4 separate regions of the Homo sapiens genome follow, and regions 1, 2 and 4 are each linked to region 3. Evidence: promoter capture Hi-C in 16 types of primary human blood cells and fetal thymus (Javierre and others, 2016). All regions are on one chromosome and are shown on one strand. Each heading gives the region's core, a stretch centred on a gene start or on the middle of the fragment in contact. The rest is flanking DNA. Distances are from core to core; before and after follow the strand shown. Region 1 has its middle 3.5 kb from the start of IBTK. Region 2 overlaps IBTK (inhibitor of Bruton tyrosine kinase). Region 3 holds the start of TTK (TTK protein kinase). Region 4 overlaps IBTK (inhibitor of Bruton tyrosine kinase).

Evidence for each region. The method cuts DNA at HindIII sites, captures the fragments that hold promoters and counts their contacts. A CHiCAGO score of 5 or more calls a contact.
Region 1: a fragment that was not itself captured here is called in contact with the fragment with the promoter of TTK in region 3 in 7 of 17 cell types (monocytes, total B cells, total CD4 T cells and 4 more); the score reaches 9.4 in monocytes.
Region 2: a fragment that was not itself captured here is called in contact with the fragment with the promoter of TTK in region 3 in 1 of 17 cell types (monocytes); the score reaches 7.6 in monocytes.
Region 4: a contact is called between a fragment that was not itself captured here and the fragment with the promoter of TTK in region 3, in 1 of 17 cell types (monocytes). The highest score is 6.0, in monocytes.

Annotation. Positions count from the first base shown.
Region 1 is chr6:82,249,931-82,252,630 of GRCh38, reverse strand. No RefSeq gene overlaps it. Among named protein-coding and RNA genes, the nearest start is that of IBTK, 3.5 kb to the right of the region's middle. The HindIII fragment of the contact is 4,001 bases long and covers 1-2,700 here.
Region 2 is chr6:82,195,879-82,198,578 of GRCh38, reverse strand. IBTK (inhibitor of Bruton tyrosine kinase) reads left to right here. Exons shown (of 29, transcript NM_015525.4): 22 at 2,133-2,281. Among named protein-coding and RNA genes, the nearest start is that of IBTK, 51 kb to the left of the region's middle. The HindIII fragment of the contact is 1,334 bases long and covers 717-2,050 here.
Region 3 is chr6:80,003,196-80,005,907 of GRCh38, reverse strand. TTK (TTK protein kinase) reads right to left here and starts at 1,259. Exons shown (of 22, transcript NM_003318.5): 1 at 1,195-1,259; 2 at 1-66. The coding sequence starts at 64. RefSeq lists enhancers at 1,658-1,777, 1,348-2,222. The HindIII fragment of the contact is 2,460 bases long and covers 1-2,416 here.
Region 4 is chr6:82,233,199-82,235,898 of GRCh38, reverse strand. It overlaps IBTK (inhibitor of Bruton tyrosine kinase), which reads left to right. Exons shown (of 29, transcript NM_015525.4): 3 at 1,644-1,740. Among named protein-coding and RNA genes, the nearest start is that of IBTK, 13 kb to the left of the region's middle. The HindIII fragment of the contact is 6,415 bases long and covers 1-2,700 here.

The sequences.
Region 1 (2,700 bases), core at 161-2,660, 2.2 Mb before region 3:
TCCTGACCTTAGGTGATCTGCCTGCCTTGGCCTCCCAAAATGCTAGGATTACAGGTGTGAGCCCCCACACCCGGCCTAAGTATGTCTTTTCTATCAGTCCTAGGGATTTATGGCATGAAGAGAAGGCTCCAACCACTATGTATCAAACTCACTCTTTTTCTTTCTTCTCTCTCTCTCTTTCTAATAGTGACAACACAGATTTAATTATTTAGCTAAGTAGAAAAGGAATAGGAGCAATTCTCAGTAAGATGGGCTGAGAAAGGCAAATGATACATTTTTCAGTCATCGTAAAGGGAAGACTTTTAGGAGTTCAGTGTTCTGATTGTAATAGAATACTAAGCCTGTTAAGTTTATAAGTTTGATTTATCTCAAAGTTCTGCTTATTTCATCTAGGCTTTGAATTTACCTTGAATTTCTCCAGTATTTGCCTTGAATTTCAGATTTTTTTGGTGGACTATGCTTTTAAACATAAGATTCTAAAGTTACATTCAAATACTGCCACCTTGTGGGTTATTCTTTGTTTCCCCATCCCACCCTTTAATTTGGTGGAAACAGATTCATCCAGGCAGTTCATTTCAGGTTATGTCAATTAAGTTGCTAAGAGTTGTACTAAGAGCTTCATATATATAATATATACATTATATTATATATATATATAAAATCTCATTTAAACTTCTTAAGAACTTTATGAAAGCAATACTATTAACCCTATTTCAGAGATGAGGAAACTAGGCTTAGAGGGTTTATGTAACTTGCCTGACATCTCACAGATAGTAAGCATAGGAGTAAAACTTTATATCTGGGCACCTTGCCTCTAGAATCCTTGTCTCCAGGAGTAAAACTAACAAATCTAAAAATAAAACAGTGTGATACATTATATGACTAAGTGATAGAAGCAGTATAAAGGGAATAATTGCTAGGAAAGGCCATCCGGAAAGTCTTCACAGATATGTGGGGAGGTGACCCTCTGTAAGTAAGGATTGGAAAGATAATGATTCTATAGGAAGAACGCAGCTGGGACCATACACCTGAATCCAGAAGAACACAAACACCCTATGTGGCCTATTGTTTTGTCTGCCTCACCCTGCTTTCTTTTGGGGAACTACTCTTCACTCTGCTTTAACCATGACTCTAATAGAGGATGTCAATCATGTTATCCTTGATTCCTCACCTAATCCAAGCCGACATGAGTCCGTCAGGTGCCTAGAACTTTTGTGCTTGAGATAATAGGCTCAGTGCTATCTTCCCTAATGGCAAACCTGAGGTGAGATATGTGATTTATGTGAGGTACTTAATTTGTGTGCCAGAAAGTTGTAGTCAACCAGTGATGTCCTGTAGAAGATGGTGTGGAGTAGAAGAGAATGAGGCTAAACAATAAGGTTCCAGTCATCTCTAGGCCAGCTGCACTATTGATCTTCCTCTAAAAATCATTCTTGTAGAACCTAATCAGGTTTGGGTTTCTAATCAAATTCTAGTGTTTTCTCTTCTGCCACCAGCACTGTCATTTCCTACTCCTATACAACTTGAAAGACAGCAAAATACACATAATGATGTCAGTACTTTTAATTATAAAGGATAGTACTACCAATTTATTTTGGAAAAATGGTATTTAGGGAGTTTATTATAGATGCCATGTGGCTTAGAAATATTTCTGCAGTGCTCCACTCTTGATGCCTGTACTATTCTTTTTCTACTCCCTCCGCCCATCACTGCAATCTTTTTATTTATTTATTTATTTATTGAGACAGAGTCTCGCTCTTTCACCCAGGCCGGAGTGCAGTGGCGCTATCTTGGCCCACTGCAATCTCCACCTCCCAGGTTCACGCCATTCTCCTGCCTCAGCCTCCCGAGTAGCTGGGACTACAGGTGCCCGCCACTGCGCCCGGCTAATTTTTTTTGTATTCTTTAGTAGAGATGGGGTTTCACCGTGTTAGCCAGGATGGTCTCGATCTGCTGACCTCGTGATCTGCCTGCCTCGGCCTCCTGGGATTACAGGCATGAGCCACTGTGCCTGGCCCATCACTGCAATCTTTTAAAGTCATCTCTGGTTTTTTTATTTTTTACTTTAAAAAATAAAACTACTTTAGAAACTCTAGTCAATTATTTTTCCAAACTTTGATTTTTTTAATCATTCAAGTAATATTTAAATTATTGCAATGAAAATTACAAAAGTCAAAATGATAGAAATTAAGAATCACCCATAATCCCACCATAGAAACAATCATTGTAGATATATTTTGACCTATTCTTTCATGTGTAAACACAAAATTTTTTTAAAAATCAAACAAAATGGCTCATTTTGATTTCTTCCTCCCTTAACCACATCTACAATATATTTTTCATTTAATTGTATTTCATTTGTACTATTTCCTAATTATTTTAATATTTTGTCTTGCAAATAACCAGTAAGTACTTTTGAAAGCATCTAACTTTCCTGGGAAAAGGGGAGCAATTCTACATTCCTTTGACTGGAATGTTATTTCTTTCCTGCTTCATCTACTTATCTCCTCGTTATCTAGTTATCTGAGTTATCTTCTGCTCAGTCTTTAGTTCATGTGTCACATCTTTTGGAAGTCAGATAAATCTATCAGATTAATACTTATAAACGTTGCAATTTATTATGCTTGGGAATATCTGGGTCTACATGTATTTTTGTTCACTGTTGGATCCCCAATGCTTACCACAAATTGTCCGAGACCT
Region 2 (2,700 bases), core at 134-2,633, 2.2 Mb before region 3:
GAAGAAGGATTTTTTTTTTATGTTTACTGAGATGCTTCAAATTAGGTGCTTGATATGTTCACTAAAGCTCAAAGGAATAATGTCAAGAATAGTTTTAGATAACATAAAGATAAAAAAAGGATAGATAATATGCCTAAAATTTATTTATGAAGCAATGAAAATAGGAATCAGGAGACCTAGTAAATGGGAAAGCTATTATCTTAGGACTTTTCTAAATTTAAAATTCTGTGACTCTGTGTTCTCTGTGTTGTATGAATTACCGTTAGTGTTTAGAAGGAGGCAGGGGTGGATTGATGGAAGGATGAATAATGGATAGACAGTCTTGAAAGTAATGACTTTCCAGTCACCTAAATGACTTATGGAAAAGCAGATATTTGGTTTGTTTTAAATAATGTTATTGTTACCATATGTGTTAGAATCTTAGAATTTCAGAGCTAGAAGAGACATTAGTAATGAAATAATTTATGTCCCTTACTTTAAACCTAAGGAAAGAAGCTCAAAAAACATAAGTGATTTGAAGTAGTGACCAAAAGAAATAAAATTTGTTCTCTTGATTCCAGGTCCGTATTTTCCTGGTGTACTGTTCTTTCTGTGGCCAGGATATCTGTAGTCAAAGATAACTAAAAGGTCAGATTTAATTGGAGGCCAAAAAGACCTGTTAAGGAAGAAAATTTGAGTATGAGGCCAATTTCATCAAAGACAGTTGCGTAAAAGCTTAACATCTGTGTCGATCTTAAAGTTAGACAAACGGCATTCAGCAAAACTGTTTTTGACCAGAAGTAATTGTTGGCCACATTAATTGTCCTCTTTTTTTCTGGATTTATTTCTAACTGACTTTTGAGAGTGTTCTAATATTAGATGTATTCTCTTCGATGAAAATTTGCCAGCCTTAAAAATATTCAAAAAGAGGCAAGACGCAGTGGCTCCTGCCTGTAATCCCAGCACTTTGGGAGGCCAAGGCGGGCGGACCACAAAATCAGGAGCTCCAGACCAGCCTGGCCAATATGGTGAAACGCTGTCTCTAGTAAAAATACAAAAAAAATTAGCCGGGCATGGTGGTGCATGCCTGTAATCCTAGCTACTTGGAAGGCTGAGGCAGGAGAAACACTTGAACCTGGAGGTGGAGGTTGCAGTGAGCTGAGATCATGCCACCGCACTCCAGCCTGGGCAATAGAGTAAGACTCTGTCTCAAAAAAAAAAAAAAATTCAAAAAGATTGTGTGGCAAAAAAAATGTTTAAATGTTCTTTCCAAATTGTAGTGATAACAATAAAAGAAACATTTAGCTTGTTAAGGTGATTTACTTTAAAGAGAACAATGTATAAGAGATGGTAGGTTTTATTTTTAAATCAATTATACAGCTTTTAGTTACAAGTTAGATAACATCTTTATTTTATAGCTTATTTTGGTACTTCATTTAGATTCTAATAAATTTGAAATGTGTGGAAATGGACATGTGAATCTAAGCAAAAGTTTGAACCTGGATACCAGGTGTGGCATGAGGCCAGGCATTTAGCTTGCCTAAGAGAAGAAATGATATATACATTTCACAACAACCCTCTTGCTTCAAGCGAGCTCTCAATAGCCAGAGATTTCAGGGAAAAACACACTTCAAACAGGCCACAGTTGTCTTCTGCGGGAGCCTCTGCTATGGGGTCAGTCAGCTGGCTAAGTGAGAGGCAAAAAGGCCACAGGGTTCCTCCCACATAGAATGAAGCTACCCCCTTGCTTGGGTGCGGAGACCACTGTACCAAGAGACAGATGAGAAAGGGAAAAGAGGTCTGGATTTTAATTATTTTCCCTTTCTCCTTTGTCTCTTATGCGGACAAAAATATTTTAAATCACTTTTTAGAGCAGATCCCAAAGAACTATCTTCCTCAGGTTCATTACACAATTGGTGTGTGATTGTAATGAATAAAATTATTGTTTTAGAATCTCTTCCATTTCAGTTTTTCACTTAAACTGATTTCTTTCTCCAGTTAACTTGAATTATTAAGATTTTTATACCATAAATATAATTTGAATGTTATTAAATCTGGATAAATGAAAGCTTTTTTAGCTCTCTGGTTCATGGAATGTAATGCATATATGTTTAATGCATATGTGTTTAATTTTTTTTAATTTCATGTTTTAGGATTATTAAAGTCTGGTAAGACCAATTCTGTGGAATCTCTTCCAGAACTGTTGACATCAGACTCTGAAGGAAGCTATGCAGGAGTGGGTAGTCCTAGAGATTTACAGTCCCCTGATTTCACAACAGGATTTCATTCAGATAAGATTGAGGTTTGTTTTTTGAAGCACTACCTCCTTACCTTCAGATTTTAGATTTATAGATGGTTTATCTTTAATATTTCCTTATTTTTGCCCTAATTTTAAAACAGTTTCCAGGTTGGTATATAAGAATCACAAATATAGTGTTAGTTTTCTTAAATTTGCACAACATTTCTATTTTTAGAGATTGTAATGGCAGTTTTGAGCCCTTTATGATGTTATTTCTAGTCTTTGTGCAACTAAAATATAATGTTGATGTAAAATATAATAACACTATAGACATGTTGAAAAAATATATTTGTAGCTAAATTATTGAAATTTATCTTGTGAAATGTCAGTTAACATCAGTTAAAAATTGTCAAGGCAAATGATTTCGAAAATAAGCCTACTTTGAAAGTTCGCAGTCTCTTTCCTCCAGGGTATTAACTGGA
Region 3 (2,712 bases), core at 10-2,509:
CTCTCACTTTGTTCATTATGGAATCAATTGTCAATTCTCTGCCACTTAAATCCTCGGATTCCATTTCTAAGAAAAAAACTGAACAGTCATAACTCCTACTTTAACTAGCATCAAAGAAAAAAATGCACTAGCTTTTTAGAACCCAGACGACTAAAGCATTCGTTTTGTGAACACATCTAAATGCAGCTATTATTAGGCTAGTATTAATGGAGGTAAGTGCACAACAACAAGGTACACATCTTTGTAATTTATTCACCAAGGTTTCATAGGCCAAGTATACTTTTTCCCCCAATATAACATCAATGACGTCACACTGTAGAAATCTGCAAATTTAGTGTCACTTAAAAAAAATATGATAGAGTGTTTGCTTGGATTTTGGTAGCGACATACACATAAAGATTGCTTGGATTCTGGTAGTGACATAGACATAAAGAATTCGTTTGGCAATGGGAATAACAATTCCTTTATTCGCCTGCTTTACTTGAGTAAATCTTCCAGTGCAAGTGCTTTCAAAGCAGAATATAAACATGATGGGGCTTTACTGATAATTAGGAAATCCGCAGATTTATTCTTGTGCATATCTAGCAGAATCACGATTTGCTACCTTAATCTAACACTAAGAAACTATTGTACTGGTACTGAGCACTTGCTTATCTGCATGGTGGTGGTGTTTGTTCAATAAAGTGTCTGCAGTCTTATTGTTAATCGTATCTTTGTGACTCTCAAACACCAACTCAGTGTCACTGATAACAATGCTGCCCCGTCTTCAGGTTTAACAATGAAAAAAAGTCATAAAGTTGCAGCAAGGTATCACTCCACCTCTTAAGTCAGGTTTGAAAGATAACTGTCAGATCACGGCCACCCGCTTCTTTCCCAGTTCTAACCCCCAAAACAAGAGAGACTGTCCTTTGGAAAACGATCTTGTGCGCAGGTACCCCACCACCCCTTCTTTCCAGCGTGGGCCACACCCACTTCTTACTTCCTCAACAAAACCTCCTGCATCACCCCACCGGCCAGACCCGCTGAGGCAGTGAGACATCCCCTCCCCCTCCAGCTCGTTTAGCCGCGTCGCATACCTGGCTCCGAGCTGCCCCCACCTCGCCCCACCCCTCACCGACCAGCGCTAACAATGAGCCCCTACACCGGCTGCGGCTGTTCCTCAGTGCGCCGGTGCACCGGTAAGACAGAACTTACCTACAGAAAGCTGCGCTGGGGAAATGAAAAGATGGAACCCAAACTCCTTTCCGCAAACACGTTTGAATTTCCCCGTCGCTATCACTACGGTCTCCTATTGGTCAATGCTAGCCACGTAGAAGCGACAGTCGTGATTGGTTCTTGTGCGACGGGGGCCGCCCCTCCTCCTGCGTCAGGCTAGGCCCGCCCCGGAAGAGCCTGCGGCCGCGACCCCACCCGTGCGGCGCCTGGGTTGGTAGGGTGCTGGCACTTTGCAGGCGTTCCCCGGACGCCCGTGGGCGGGCTTTCCTGGTCTTTCCAGTTTAACCAGGCCGAATTTTTGCCTGGGAGGTAGCCACTCCCGAGCAAACCTACCCAGTGAGAGGAATATAGGGGCAGGGACGGCTGCTCCTAGCATCAGGACCTAAAAGATGCACCTTGGGCCGGCCCTTTACTGACCCCACCGCCACCCTTCTCCTTCGTTTCCCGCGGTTCTCACAGCCTGGCTTAGAGAGGATGTGGCAAGAAAGGATCTTTCACTGAGCTACGTTCAGCCCTGCCGCCAGCTCAAGAATTTCAGTGCTTTTTATCCTTGAGCTTCTGCTTATGCCCTTCCATTATCCTTAAATGACTCCACGCTCTGTCTTCAAGCCAAGACCCTCCCCCTTGTCAAAATTCTGCGCAGAACTCAAGCGCCCATCGTGATTGCCCTGTCTGAAGTCGCCTTATCGGCCCCCCTCCCTCGAAGCCTGCCCCACTTAAGGGCTCAGGTGTCCTCAGGGGTAAAAACATCTCCCTAGTAATAATCTTCGCGGGTGCGAGGCTCTGCCGCTAAGTGGCTTTGTGGTCCAGGGCAACGGTTACTCCTCGTCTGCAAAACTAAAAGGGATGTGTCTGTTGTGCCAGCATTATGACATATATTCTGTGGTAGGACGGGTTGGTTTTGTGTATGTATAGGAAACTAACTGCAGCTGTCACTTGTTAACTCCAAAGCTATCCTTAGAACCCTCACATTCCCAGCTCTGGATAGCCACCCAGCTAGCGTGAGAGCCCTTCTCAATCACTTAATGCATCTTTCTGTGTCAGCTAGCTAGTATTTCTGCTTCAGCAGAGCAAAATGACTTGCTATACCATGGTTGGCTAATCACTTACCTTTGCACCATTGCATCTAATGCTTCTGCCTGGAAAGAGTTTATTATTCCTCCAATTCTCGTTGATCTGTTTGCGGCCTGATCACAAAGCTTGCATTTTCCTTAAAATACTGTTGCTGGATGACCTCACCCTAACACTTCTTTCTGTACTCTCGTTTGGTGGTCTCCTTCAGTCTTCTATTTTTAAATACCATCTATATGTTGATGGCTCCCAAATGTGTATCATTAGCTGAGCTCTCCTCAACTCCATACTCAGATATCCACTGCCTACTTATTAACATCTTCACTTACATGTCTCATACGCATCTTGAACTCAAAATGTCCAAAACCAAGCCCCTGATCTTCCTACCCAAACCTGTTTTTTTTACAAAATCTATAAAAGACAAAT
Region 4 (2,700 bases), core at 6-2,505, 2.2 Mb before region 3:
CCGTCTCAAAAAAACCAAAAAAAACAATAACAACAAAAATTAATGAACAAATAGGAACATGCTTGATAAATATTGATGTATTAGAGTTATTTTTGCCTGCAACTGGAACCAACTATGGTAACATAAACAAAATATATTGAAGGGATATCAGATACCTCGCAGAATAAACAGGTCATCAACAATTAACTGTCAAATTATAAATAAGAAAAAATTCCTCAAACTAAAATAGAGTAAGTATAAACTAAATAAACTGATTTGAAATTTTATGTCTCTCCTTCTCCAGATAATTTTTTTTTGTTTTTTTGAGACGGAGTTTCACTCTTGTTGCCCAGGCTGGAGTGCAGTGGCGCGATCTCGGTTCACTGCAACCTCTGTGTCCCGGGTTCAAGTGATTCTTCTGCCTCAGCCTCCCAGGTAGCTGGGATTATAGGCATGCACCACCACACCTGACTAATTTTTGTATTTTTACTACAGATGGGGTTTCAGCATGTTGGCCAGGCTGACGTTGAACTCCTGACCTCAGGCGATTCATCCACCCACCTCCCAAAGTGCTGGGATTATAGTCATGAGCCACTGCGCCCGGCAGAGTGTGGCTCCTCAAATGCAAGAAGAGTTAAATGTTTATGTTCAGATGCACTCCCACACAGACACAAACCCAGAGCTAGGGACTTGTAGGGACAGTGTATTTATGGGGTATTAAAGGGGTATCAGAAATGCTTTATTGTTAAAAATGTTCACATGGCCGGGAACGGTGGCTCACACCTGTAATCCCAGCACTTTGGGAGGCTGAGGCGGGCTGATCACGAGGTCAGGAGTCCGAGGCCAGCCTGGCCAACATGGTGAAACCCCATCTCTACTAAAAATACAAAAATTAGCCGGGTATGGTGGTGGGCACCTGTAATCCCAGCTACTCGGGAGGCTGAGTCAGGAGAATTGTTTGAACCTGGGAGGCGGAGGTTACTGTGAACTGAGATCGTGCCTTTGCACTCCAGCCTGGGCGACAAAGGCGAGATTCCGTCCCCCCTGCAAAAAAAAGTTCACATGTAGTTAATTTTTATTTAAAATGTTAATTTTTTATTTCTTCACATTTTCTGATTCTTCCTTATTCCAGCAAGAGTCGGATATGTGATTTTTCTTAATTATTCTCTGCAGTATGTGAGAGAAAAATGTGTGTGAATATGAGAGATAATCATTATTAAATTTTTTTTCAGTGTATTTATGGGGTTGATTATCTGACTTTTTGATACATAAGAATAGGAAGTCGGCCAGGTGTGGTGGCTCAGCCTGTAATCCCAGCACTTTGGGAGGCCAAAGCAGGTGGATCACCTGAGGTCAGAGGTCGAGACCATCCTGACCAACATGGAGAAACCCTGTCTCTACTAAAAATAGAAAATTAGCCGGGCGTGGTGGTGGATGCCTGTAATCCCAGCTACTTGGGAGGCTGAGGCAAGAGAATTGCTTGAACCTGGGAGGTGGAGGTTGCGGTGAGCCAAGATTGCGCCATTGCATCACTCCAGCCTGGGCAACAAGAGCGAAATTCTGTCTCAAAAAAAAAAAAATAATAATAAAATAGGAAGTTACTGATGATATAGGTAATTAATAATATATATATATTTATGTATTTGTTTGTTTGTTTGTTTTAGCATGGTGTTAGTCTGTATATTCAAGATAAAGAAGGCTTGTCAGCTTTGGATCTTGTAATGAAGGATAGACCAACTCATGTAGTATTCAAGAATACTGGTAAGAAAATTTCACAAATGGGCTGGGCGCTGCGGCTCACACCTGTAATCCCAGCAATTTGGTAGGCTGAGGCAGGCGGATCACTTCAGGTCAGGAGTTCGAGAATACTGGTAAGAAAATTTCACAAATGGGCTGGGCGCTGCGGCTCACACCTGTAATCCCAGCAGTTTGGTAGACCGAGGCAGGCGGATCACTTGAGGTCAGGAGTTCGAGCCTGACCAACATGGTACAACCCCGTCTCTACTAAAAATACAAAAGTTAGCCGGGCATGGTAGCAGGCAATCCTAGTTACAGGCAATCCTAGCTCCTCTAGGCAATCTTAGAGGCTGAGGCAGGAGTATTGCTTGAACCTGGGAGGTGGAGGTTGCAGTGAGTTGAGATCTTGCCACTGCACTCCAGCCTGGGTGATAGAGCTAGACTTCGTCTCAAAAAAAAAAAAAAAAAAAACTTTACAAATGTATTCCATTAAGGTGCAGCTTAGCTTAGAAAATTTTAATGAAATTTTATTCTTCTTAAAGTAGTGGGGAAATTTATTTGTGTGTGGCTATCTGCAAAGAAATTTTACTTTGGTATATGTTGGATATTTTTTGTTTCATATTCAGAACAATTTTATTTTGCATTTTAAAATTTCAATCCATATTTATGTCTATATAAAAGTACAATCTAAAATGGGAGGACTGTTATAATTGTAACTACTGTAAAGTAATTGATATATACTCAGAAAGTAACATCAGCATTGAGGTAGAAGGAAAAAGGAATGTAAATTTTTATTCCTTTTGTTATTTTTGAGATAGGGTCTCTGGAAATTATCATTATTTTTGTGGTTGTTGTTGAGATAGGGTCTCGCTTTGTCAGTCAGGCTGGAGTGCAGTGGCAAGAACACGGCTCATTGCAGCTTCAACCTTCTGAGCTTAAGCCATCCTCTCACTTCAGCCCTCCAAGTAGCTGGGAATATAGACC